2 separate regions of the Homo sapiens genome follow, and region 1 is linked to region 2. The links are contacts of gene promoters, found by promoter capture Hi-C in human tissues and cell types (Jung and others, 2019). All regions are on one chromosome and are shown on one strand. Each heading gives the region's core, a stretch centred on a gene start or on the middle of the fragment in contact. The rest is flanking DNA. Distances are from core to core; before and after follow the strand shown.

Region 1 (5,150 bases), core at 937-3,436, 130 kb after region 2:
GAATGTTCTTTTTGCATAGCACTGTGTTACTGTTTTGTGGATGCAACCTTTTCTTTTGTCTTTCTGAAGGCATCACGGATACTGTTTGCTTATCCTTGCTCATTTGTTTTGTGTTTTATTCTCCCTGCCAGGCCTCTACATCTTCCAAGGTGCTTTGGGCATGTATTTATTGTGGTTTCTGTCTTCCACCGTTAGAGGTCCCCTCAGATATGTGCCTATCTTTGGTTGTATGTTCATGATTAAGAGTCGGGGAGAGGGACTGAAATGCTGGCTGGGAGCTCTGAGCTTTGGAAGGGCATGTCTACTATGAGGTCCACTGTAGGGTAATCTAACCCTGTCCTTAAGGAAGCCCTAGTGTCAGTATCTTTAGAGCTTCCCCTTGGGCTGGATAGACTCCCCAGAAGGAAAGTAGAGTCCTCTTCTCATTTTCTATCTAGAATCAAGTTCACCTGCCAGAGTTCTATCAGCTGAAAGCAGGGAGTGGACTGGGAAGTGTTCAGCACTCCACACACACACGGTGAGTCACAATCTCTTTCTGGTAAAATACTCATGACCTCTATAGTGCTGGGTGACCCTAGCGGACCATCTGCAGAGTTTGAACTTTCAGGCTCCTGCTAAAGTCGGGAAGGGGCAGTACACCACATGGCATAGGTAGAAAATGGGATTCTGGGCTCTAACTTTAACACTTTTCAAACTCAAAGGTTTTAACTTATCCTCCTTAAAGGACAGAGCCCCTTCCTTCGCCCCCAGGATTTGCCTGTTGTTGGTCCTTTTGAAGATTTTCCAATTTTAAAAGAGGATGGTTCTCAACTTTCCCCTACGCAAGCTTCACATTTAGCTTTCTCAGAGCCAGGACGCCATCGCGTGATGGTCTGCTTCCCAGCTTCAGTTGCTACTGTGTCCTCTCCTGTTCTCCCCATCCTTGTGTGTTTACAACTTTTTTGAAAAAAAGTTATATAGGGTTATGAGACAGAAAGATTTTAGATGTGTGTAATCAATCTGTCATCTTAACCACAAGCTTTGCCTTGTGTTTTTACTAATAAGGTAACTTTGTCATGGACTGACTTATCCTTTAAAAAAGTACAAAGTATTCATAAACAGCAAAGATAGGGACTCTGGTATATGCACAGCTCTGTGCAAATAAAAACCCTGCATGGACCCTAGTCCCAGCAATTTAAGTTTGCACTTGCTTTAATCTTTTGATGTTGATGCTATTAGCTCAGCTGAGCCACAGAAACTCTGCTCTCTGAAACATGTCTGCTCATCTCCCACCTCCAGAATGTTTAACTCAAACAGCACAGCACATACCTTCCTGCCTATGATCCACCAACTGAGAAGCTTACATGGCAACACAAAACACTATCTGCTACCAAATATGACCCTTACTACACTTCAGAATTTGTTTGCCCACAGTGACATAGAAGGGGAGTAGGGAAGTGCTGGGAAGGGGCGGGTCCCTGGTGAGGGCTCCACCCCCAGCCTGTGCCCACGGATCTAGGTGAGGACAGGCATTTTTGTTTTCCTGCCCAAATGTTGCATTTCCCCCAGACCACCCTGGCCTGCTACGCCCTGATCCTGTGCCTGTAAAAACCTCCGAGACCCTAGCAGACAGGCACACAAGTGGCTGGACGTCAAGAGGAACGCATTGGCAAAAGACACAAGCAGCTGGACGGCGAGAGGACAGCAAGGGGAGCATGCCGGTGGAAGAGCACATGACAGACGCTGGCATGCCAGCAGGCCCCCGACCAGCAGAACGACGCAGTTTGGCCAGGGCAGTCAAGAGAGCTGGGGCCGCTCCATCTCCCTTCTGGCTTCCCCCATCTGCTGAGAGCTACTTCTACTCAGTAAAACCCTACACTCATTCTCCAAGCCCACGTGTGATCCCATTCTTCCAGTACACCAAGGCAAGAACCCTGGGATACAGAAAGCTCTCTGTCCTTGCCATAAGGCAGGGGTCTAATTGAGCTGGTTAATGCAAGCCATCTATGGATGGCTAAACTAAAAGAGCACTCTGTAACACATGCCCACTGGGGTTTCAGCTGTAAACATTCACCTCTAGACACTGCTGTAGGGTTGGAGCGACACAGCCTGCCTGTCTGTATGCTCCCCTAGAGGTTTGAGTAGCAGGGCAATGAAGAAGCGAGCCACTCCCACTGTTGCACGCCCTGCGAGGGGGACAAGGGAACTTTTCCCGTTTCAACAGCAACGATTCATGCTGAATGAAGTTTATAGTATGAGTTAAGGTAACTACCTACACAAGCCCAAGAGTTACTTATAAACTACTTTAAAAGTTCTATGATTGAAGTTCCAGAACTAGAGAGAATTAAAGCAGTATGCAACAGATGCTTACAAACTAACACCTCACTGACTCCAGGATTTGTTAAGATCTTACAGTCTCAGCTGGGTAAGGCTCTACTGAATAATCCTGTGGTCAAGTTGTTTTGGAGGAAATTTTAACACACCACAGAAAATGAGAGATGAGTTTGATACCAGCATTAGATAAGAGTGCCTATTATGTATACCAGTTATATCCAGAACCAGAGGTGTCATTCGGCACTACCAGGTCTACTCACCCATCTGTGGCAGGTTTCTTCCGGAGTATGCTTGGCCGTGGCGATGAGCCCTGGGCGGGAGCGTTGGTGCTAGCACTCTGGCTGTGGGTCTGCACCACGGTTGTTGCTGCTGGAGCAGCACTGAATGGATTGCTAATAGGGTTGGCCACAATTGTGGCTCCATCTGCCAACACCACTGCTACAGGAGAGAGGCAACAGGAAAGAACATTGAAGAGAGGGAAACAAAATGCCATAGAAGACATAAATAAAAATGATGAGACCACTAGAATTAGGTATCCATGTTCTAACTGTCCAATTTCAAACTGATAAGGGACAGGAGCACAATGTTCATCCGACAAAGAGCAGATAGCTAAATGGGAGCAGTTACTAAGTCTACTGATGCATGATCCATACCATTATTTTTTCTTTTTCTTTGTTTGAAAGAGAGTCTTGCTCTCTTGCCCAGGCTGGAATACAGTGGTGCAATCTCAGCTCACTGCAACCTCCACCTCCCAGGTTCAAGTGATTCTCCTGCCTTAACCACAAGAGTAGCTGGGATTACAGGCGTGCACCACCACACCTGGATAATTTTTGTATTTTTTAGTAGAGACGGGGTTTCACCGTGTTGGCCAGGCTAGTCTCGAATTCCTGACCTTAAGTGATCCACCTGCCTTGGCCTCCCAAAGTGCTGGGATTACAGGCGTGAGCCACCACACTTGGCCCATACCATTATTTTTTCTTTGCTCTATAATCACAGTTACTAATAAATGAGATAAGGTGAACAAAGTACATAGTATCTAGTATAGTCTCTCACTCTACTAGTTACTTTACATTTTTTACTGATATAATTCTTACCATCATTGTAATTTCCATTTTAGAGATAAGAAAACTGACAGACAAGAAAGGCTTAATACAAGAGCCACAAATAGAAAACACTATCTACCAGCCTGATAGCATGCTCCAATGTACACTTCAAGAAATGTACTCATTCAGTTTTTGTAAAATACCAATCTCTCTCAACCCTCAATAATGGTACCCTCCCCAGTCTATCTTTAGAAACACATTCAACTAACAGATATTTTAACTATACACTTAAAGTTAGCATCAAAATACTGGTGAGCATGAGATCATAATCAGAAAATACCTGTGTTTGACAGTTTTTGACCTATAAAAATGGCAATTTCATAGGAGTCAACTTAATATCATGAGTTTTCTGGCAGGTGCCCTTAAATATGTAGTACACCATCCTACCGGGTGGGTCATCATGGGTAAATTGCATCTCTATCATAGACATTTAGTTTAGTAATAAAAAATCAGAGAGACTTTGATTAAATAGTTGAATTCAAGGTCTACAGAACAATTAAAATTCATAGCTCCAGCCAGGCACAGTGGCTGATGCCTGCAATCGCAGCACTTTGGGAGGACAAGGCTGAAGGATAGCTTGAACTCTGGAGTTCGAGACCAGCCTGGGCAACAAGCAATATCCTGTTTCTACAAAAAATCAAAAATAATTACCCAGGTGTGGTGGCATGCACTTGTAGTCCTTGCTACACGGGTGTCTGAGGCATAAGGACTGCTTGAGCCCAGAAGGTCAAGGCTACAGTGAGCCATGATTGTACCACTGTGTTCCAGCTGGGCAACAGAGTGAGTGAGACCTTGTCTTTTTAAAAAAAAAAAAAAAAAAAAAATCAGTGCCTTGGCTGAGAAACAGCCATTTTGTTTTTTTAAACTACATTAGAGAAATGGCTAATCAATAATAATCCAAGTACATGGAATCTTAAATTCAGCCAAAAAAAAAATAACCTAGCTGGTGTAATGACTCATGCTTGTAATCCCAGCACTTTGTGAGGCCAAAGTGAGTAGACTACTTGAGCCCAGGAGTTTGAGACCAGCCTGGGCAACATGGCAAAACTCTGTCTCTATTAAAAATACAAAAATTAGCCAGGCATGGTAGCTTGCACCTATAGTCCCAGTTACTCAGGCGGCTGAGGTGGGAGGATCACTTGAGCCCAGGAGGATGAGGCTGTGGTGAGCCAAGATCACACACCACTGCACTCTAGCCTGGGTGACAGAGTGAGAATCTGTCTCAAAAAGATCTAAATACAGTGACTTATTCCATTTTTCAAAATGTTATTCCACTAGTATTTCTTTTTAAGAATTCATAATATTAGCTAACATCAGCATAAGGTTTTACAGCTTTATGTACAACTCTGAAGAAAATCTTCAATGAGAATACTACTTATAAGGTGAATTTTTTCCCACAACTAGGAGCTTTTAAAAAAGATAACACTTCTCATTATGTTCAAATGAATACTAGGGCTGTTGATGTATACTGTATCTTTTTTTTTTTTTGGAGACAGAGTCTCACTCTGTGGCCCAGGCTGGAGTGCAGTGGCGTGATCTCGGCTCACTGCAAGCTCCACATCCCCAGTTCACGCCATTCTCTCGCCTCAGCCTCCCGAGTAGCTAGGACTACAGGCCCCCGCCACCACGCCTGGCTAATTTTTTTGTATTTTTAGTAGACAGGGTTTTACCACGTTAGCCTGGATAGTCTTGATCTCCTGACCTCGTGATCCACCCGCCTCAGCCTCCCAAAGT
Region 2 (5,797 bases), core at 1,149-3,648:
ATCCCAAGGAACATTTTCAAGTGAAGGCGCGCACACGCGCGCACATACACACACACACACACACACAATTTATTTAGAAACAAAAGGAAATAGATCAGGGGATCTGCCTGTTATTTTCTCTTGTGCAAATATTTTAAGAACAATGGCCATAATTAATCTCTGTTGCTAAAAAAGGAAAAACAACTCCTTGGCTGTATGTCATCTGGAAATTTTACCGAGGATACGTCATTACGACCATTAATAGGCCAGGTGCAGTGGCTCACACCTATACTTTCTAACACTTTGGGTGGTCGAGGCGGGCAGATTACCTGAGCCCAGGAGTTCAAGACCAGCCTGGGCCACATGGTGAAACCTTGTCTCCACAAAAAAATACAAAAATTAGCCAGGAGTGGTGGCCTGCACTTGTAGTCCCAAGTATTCCAGAGGCTGAAGTGAGGTGAGAGGATAACCTGAGCCTAGGGAAGGTTGAGGCTGCAGTGAGCTGTGATCACACCACTGCACTCCAACCTAGGTAGCAGAATGAGATCCCGTCTCAAAAAAAAAAAAAAAAAAAGGCAGGGTGAGGTGGCTCACACCTGTAATCTCAGCACTGGGAGGCCAAGGTGGGTGGATCACTTGAGGTCAGGAGTTCGAGACCAGCCTGGCCAACATGGTGAAACACCGTCCCTACTAAAAACACAAAAATTAGCTGGGCATGGTGGCAGGCGCCTGTAGTCCCAGCTACTTGGGAGGCTGAGGCAGGATGGCTTGAAACTAGGAGGGGTAGGTTGCAGTGAGCCGAGATCACATCACTGCACTCCAGCCTGGGTGACAGAGTGAAACCCTATCTCAAAATAAAATTAAAAAAAAAATTAAAAAAAATAAATTAACAACTAAAATAGTAAGTTCTAACGTATTAAACCATAAAATACAAAAAACACATAATAAACATTTTTTCATTTTTATATTTTTTATTTCTTAGAGGGTAGTATTTCCGTTTTAATTTTAAATTTATTATTTTGCCAGGCAATGGCTCACATCAGTAATCCCAGCACTCTGGGAGGCCGAGCTGGGTGGATCACCTGAGGTCACGAGTTCGAGAACAGGCTGGCCAACATGGTGAAACCCCAGCTCTACTGAAAATACAAAAATTAGCCGGGTGTGGTGGTGGGCACCTGTAATCCCAGCTACTCGGGAGGCTGAGGCAGGATAATCACTTGAGCCCAGGAGACGGAGGTTGCAGTGAGCCGAGTTCGTACCACTGCACCCCAGCCTGGGCAACAGAGTGAGACTCTGTCTCTAAATAAGTAAATGAATGAATGAATAAAAGAATAAGATAGGTCAGGTGCCGTGATTAACTTAAGCCCAGGAGTTTGAGACCAGCCTGGGCGACATAGTGAGACCCTGTCTTTACGAAAAAAATTTTTTTAATGGGCCAGGTATGGGGGCGTGCATCTGTGGTCTCAGCTACTTGGGAGGCTGAGGTGGGAGGATAGCTTGAGCGGTTGAGAGGTTGAGGTTGCAGTGGGCTCTGATCATGCCACTATACTCCAGCCTCAACAAGAGGGCGAGACCCTATCTCAATCAATAAATCAATAAATCAATAAAGTGTAAGACAGCTGTATACATTTTCAAGTTTTTGAGCTGAAGACCTCATCCCTAGGAATACCCTCCCCAACCACTTAAAGTGCGTGCGTGAGAAAACTCAAGGCTGCCAAAATAATTTGTTCCAGCCAACAGCTGAAGATAGGACTCTGTCTCTCTGCCTCTGTGGGAGGGTAGGGGCCTAACTTCGACAGGTGCGCCAGTCAACAAACCAAGCTGCGTTCACACGGACCAATCCTCCTCTTCCCGCTTTTTTACATTTCTCACTTCCCCGACTCCCCCGAGCTCCCGCTCACCACATCCTTATTCCCTAATTCTCCGTTAAAACGCCCAGAGGTTCTGTACTAATCGAAGTTGAGTTCGGTTCACGCTGGGCTCTTTTCCCTAGTGCAACAGTATATTACTGTTTAAAAATCTGTCCTTACCACCTGAGTGTCCGGCTTTGTTTATCTTTGACACAGGTCCCCGGAACTTCGCAGTTTATCACATAAAATAACCCAGTTGCCCAGGCGGTCCCTCCCAAGGCCATGGTCCCTCCCAAGGCCATGTTCCCTCCCCAGCCCCACGCCGCGCTGGGGCTTGCCCAAGCCGCCGCTGAGGCAGGGCCTTGGGCGAAGCGCGCATAACGCCAGGCCTGCGGCGACCACGCGAAGTGGCGCGGGGGAGTCTGGCAGCCCCGAGCCCAACCTTTAGGAAAGATGAGCTGTGAGGCGTCCTCCTCTACGTCGCCAGCCCGCGGATCGCTGCCACCCGCCGCCATCGCCGCGCCGCGCCGCGCGCCACCACCAGCGCCGCCGGAAGCAGAAGCGCGGAGCAACGGCCGCGGAAGGGGCGTGGTCTCGGGAGGGGCCCCGAGGGGTGGGCGGGGCCGGGAGTGCGAGCCGGACGGGGCGCAGCGAGGGGACCGGTTGGTGAGGTCCTGGAGGCTCCCCGCCACCGAGGGGCGCCCTGCACTCCCTCTCTTCTCCCATGCTCCTCGCCGCGCAGACGTCCTGGGGCAGGTCCCTACGCCTTTCTGGACGGAGGAGGTCAGATGAGATGCAGGAACGCCTGCTGATGGAGAGCAGGGCAGCCGGCTCCGAAAGTACCGGGTCCAATTTCCTTCACCGACTTAAACTTCTAAAATTTTATTGATTTGTGGTGGATTATCTGATACTTCTGAGTACGCGGACAATGATATTCAGAGGCTTTTACCACACGTCTGTTGGAACATTTGGGTGATGCGTAGAAAATTAAGCAAATGACGGCCGGGCGCAGTGGCTCACGCCTGTAATCCCAGCACTTTGGGAGGCCGAGGCGAGGGGATCACCTGAGGTCAGGAGTTTGAAACCAGCCTGGGCAACATAGTGAAACCCTATCTCTACTAAAAATACAAAAATTAGCCGGGCATGGTGGTGGGCGCTTGTGATCCCAGCTACTGGGGAGGCTGAGGCAGGAGAATCGCTTGAACCCGGGAGGCGGAAGTTGCAGGGAGCTGAGATCGCGCCACTGCACACCAGCCTGGACGACAGAGTAAGACTCCGTCTCAAAAAATATATTAAAAAAAAAAAAAAAGCAAATAAAAAATGATGCTGTTTTCGACACTGGAGAAAACAAAAGGTTGTACAATAAGGTAAATAATCATAGCTTATTAGTCAACAATATCTTAGCTCATTAGTCAACAATGTTTAGATGGTCATATTGTAAACTCTGTTGATTTAATAAAAAATGAATTGTGCCGGGCACGGTGGCTCACGCCTGTAATCCCAGCACTTTGGGAGGCCGAGGCTGGAGGATCGCTTTAGCTCCGGAGTTGAAGACCAGCCTAGACAACATAGTGAGACCTCGTCTCTAAAAAATACAAAAATTAGCCGGGCGTTGTGGCGCGTGCCTGTAGTCACAGGGATCGGGGAGGCCGAGGCGGGTGGATCGCTTGAGGGATGCAGTGAACTATGATTGCCTCACTGCACTCCAGCCTGGGCAACAGAGACCCTGCCAAAAAAAAAAAAAAGGCAAAGTCCAGGCGCGGGGGCTCACGCCTGTAATCCCAGTACTTTGGGAGGCCGGTGGGGGTGGGGGGGGCAGATCACCTGAGGTCAGGAGTTCGAAAGCAGCCTGGCCAACATGGTGAAATCACGTCTCTACAGAAAAAAAAAAAAAAAAAAAAAGCCGGGGCGTGGTGGCGGGCGCCTTTAATCCCAGCTACTCGGGAGGCTGAGGCGGAGGTTGCAGTGAGCCGAGATCGCGCCACTGCATTCCAGCCTGGGCGACAGCGACAGAGTGAGACTCTGTCTCAAATAATAATTTTTAAAAAGACTTAAAAAATTAAAAAGTAAAAATTTTAAAACTAAAGAAAAAGAAAACCTTTAGAAGGCAGTCCTGGGAATCCTGTCTGGCCTGTGCAGCCTGATCTCCTGCGAGGGCTCGTCCACAGCGTCTTGCTGTCTTGCAGTGCCGGCAATGTGGTCTCCCACCACCTGAGAAGTTCCCTCCTCCAGGGCATGCTCTTTGCTTCAGCACTGCTTCTCTAAGGAACCTGCCCAGACCTGAAGGGCTGGCCACGCCCCCTTTCACGTGCTCAGAGAAGCTGAAGGTTCCGGAGGGTTTGATGCTTGCCGGTGTTCCCTTGTACACCCAGCACTGAGTGACAGGCCAGATAACCACAGCTGCCCAGCCACTGCACCATGTGCTGGGGTCTGGGCAAAACATTTACTATTTTTACTTTTTACCTATGACTTCTCTAAGGTCAGGTTACTTTGGAGATTCACAGTCCTGTCACAAAGTAGGAAATGCCTTATAAATGGCAGGACCAAGATTTGCGCTTAGGCCTGTGGGACTGCCAGCCAGAAAAGATTCTAGCTGTCACCCGCCCTGGGTTATTTCTTTGGTTGGGAGCCACGATGTGATCACAGAATAGCCATACTGGGGGAGGGGGTCTGATTGGCAGCAGGAACTTGAGGGACTGATGGTGAACTGGAGACCTCTCTTTTCTGTTTTCCAATAGTTTCGAAATTGCAGTCCTCCCCCCACCAATTTTCCAGGGCATACAGAATCTGTGTGAGTAGAAATAATGCATAAGCGGCAGGAAGAGGCCCTTGAATCCTTGTCTGAGCTTGATTTTAATGAGGAAAACAGACACAGAAGGGACAGGACTTGCATTACATTCCTCAGGCTGCTACTCTGATTCTTGTACAGCATTGGTTCAGTCAAGCCATTCAACCAGCCCACTTAGTATTTCAGTCAGATTATTCAAGCCAAGGTTACAGACCTAGATTGATCTAAAAGCAGCTGTAGAGCACCTCCCCCACCCCCACTCCCACAATTAGCACCACTGACCTCTGATCAGATGGTTTATTTCACACTCCAGAAGTCAACAGTGATGGCTAAAATTACAAATGTTGTTTTATCACCAATCACACTCTCCCCCAAAATCAGTCATAGGCAACTCTACGCTGTTTAATTACAGGTACTATGGAATGTAATCTCTAGAACATTAATTTCTCTTGAAGAAACGAATTCCTCTTCACACACATCAGTTATTAACAAAGCCTGTAAACGTCTAACCAGCTGCTGGTAGTCAGTTTTCAAAATTACCTAACCCTGATAGCACGTTTTTATCTGTAGCCATGTGTTTTTGAGCTTTGCTAAGCGCTAAGGGCCTCAGAATTGAGTACCTTAAAAAAAAATTCTACCTCCCTGCAAATAGTGTGTCAACTGCTGATCTTTGGGTGGGTTGGGTTAGTGGGCTGGAGCCAGGGAGGGACAAGCAGACCCCAGGGTGCTGCCCAGATGGAATACTGAATTATTTTTGCCAAGTTAAAAAAAAAAAAAAGCGTAAACTGAAGATGTCCTTTCCTCCAAACACATCTCATCTTTTCTGGGCCATCCAAAAACAAAACTTCACTGGTTAGGTCAGACTGCACCAGTATGTCCCAGGGTCTTTGCTTGAATTAATTAACATCACCAAATTATATTAAATTTTAGTGTTTTTTTCCTCTCCAAGAGATTTTGGCTTTTTTTGGTAAGGTCAGTCTCATTTGAAAATCTAACAAAAACAACGAACCTGTCTGGAAAAACCCAAATCTTAAAGGGCTAATGAATGATTGCTCATGGAACTTGGCTCTAAAACACCAGTGACATTGCCACCAACCATAAAAATATACACAAGGGTGGGGTCACGAGCACCACACAAAATATCCAAGCTGACCGAATACTATCTTGTTGCCTGTCTTCA

Evidence for each region. Contacts are between HindIII fragments. The study calls those that stand out against the background at their distance.
Region 1: a fragment that was not itself captured here is called in contact with the fragment with the promoter of POLR2D in region 2 in 1 of the 25 tissues and cell types used here (pancreas).

The regions. Positions count from the first base shown.
Region 1 is chr2:127,984,212-127,989,361 of GRCh38, forward strand. It overlaps SAP130 (Sin3A associated protein 130), which reads right to left. Exons shown (of 21, transcript NM_001330301.2): 14 at 2,574-2,751. Among named protein-coding and RNA genes, the nearest start is that of SAP130, 41 kb to the right of the region's middle. RefSeq lists an enhancer at 1,754-2,254. The HindIII fragment of the contact is 5,804 bases long and covers 1-5,088 here.
Region 2 is chr2:127,855,757-127,861,553 of GRCh38, forward strand. It overlaps POLR2D (RNA polymerase II subunit D), which reads right to left and starts at 2,399. Exons shown (of 4, transcript NM_004805.4): 1 at 2,272-2,399. The coding sequence starts at 2,344. It also overlaps the pseudogene LOC107985803. RefSeq lists an enhancer at 1,834-2,003 and a silencer at 2,234-2,543. The HindIII fragment of the contact is 23,647 bases long and covers 1-5,797 here.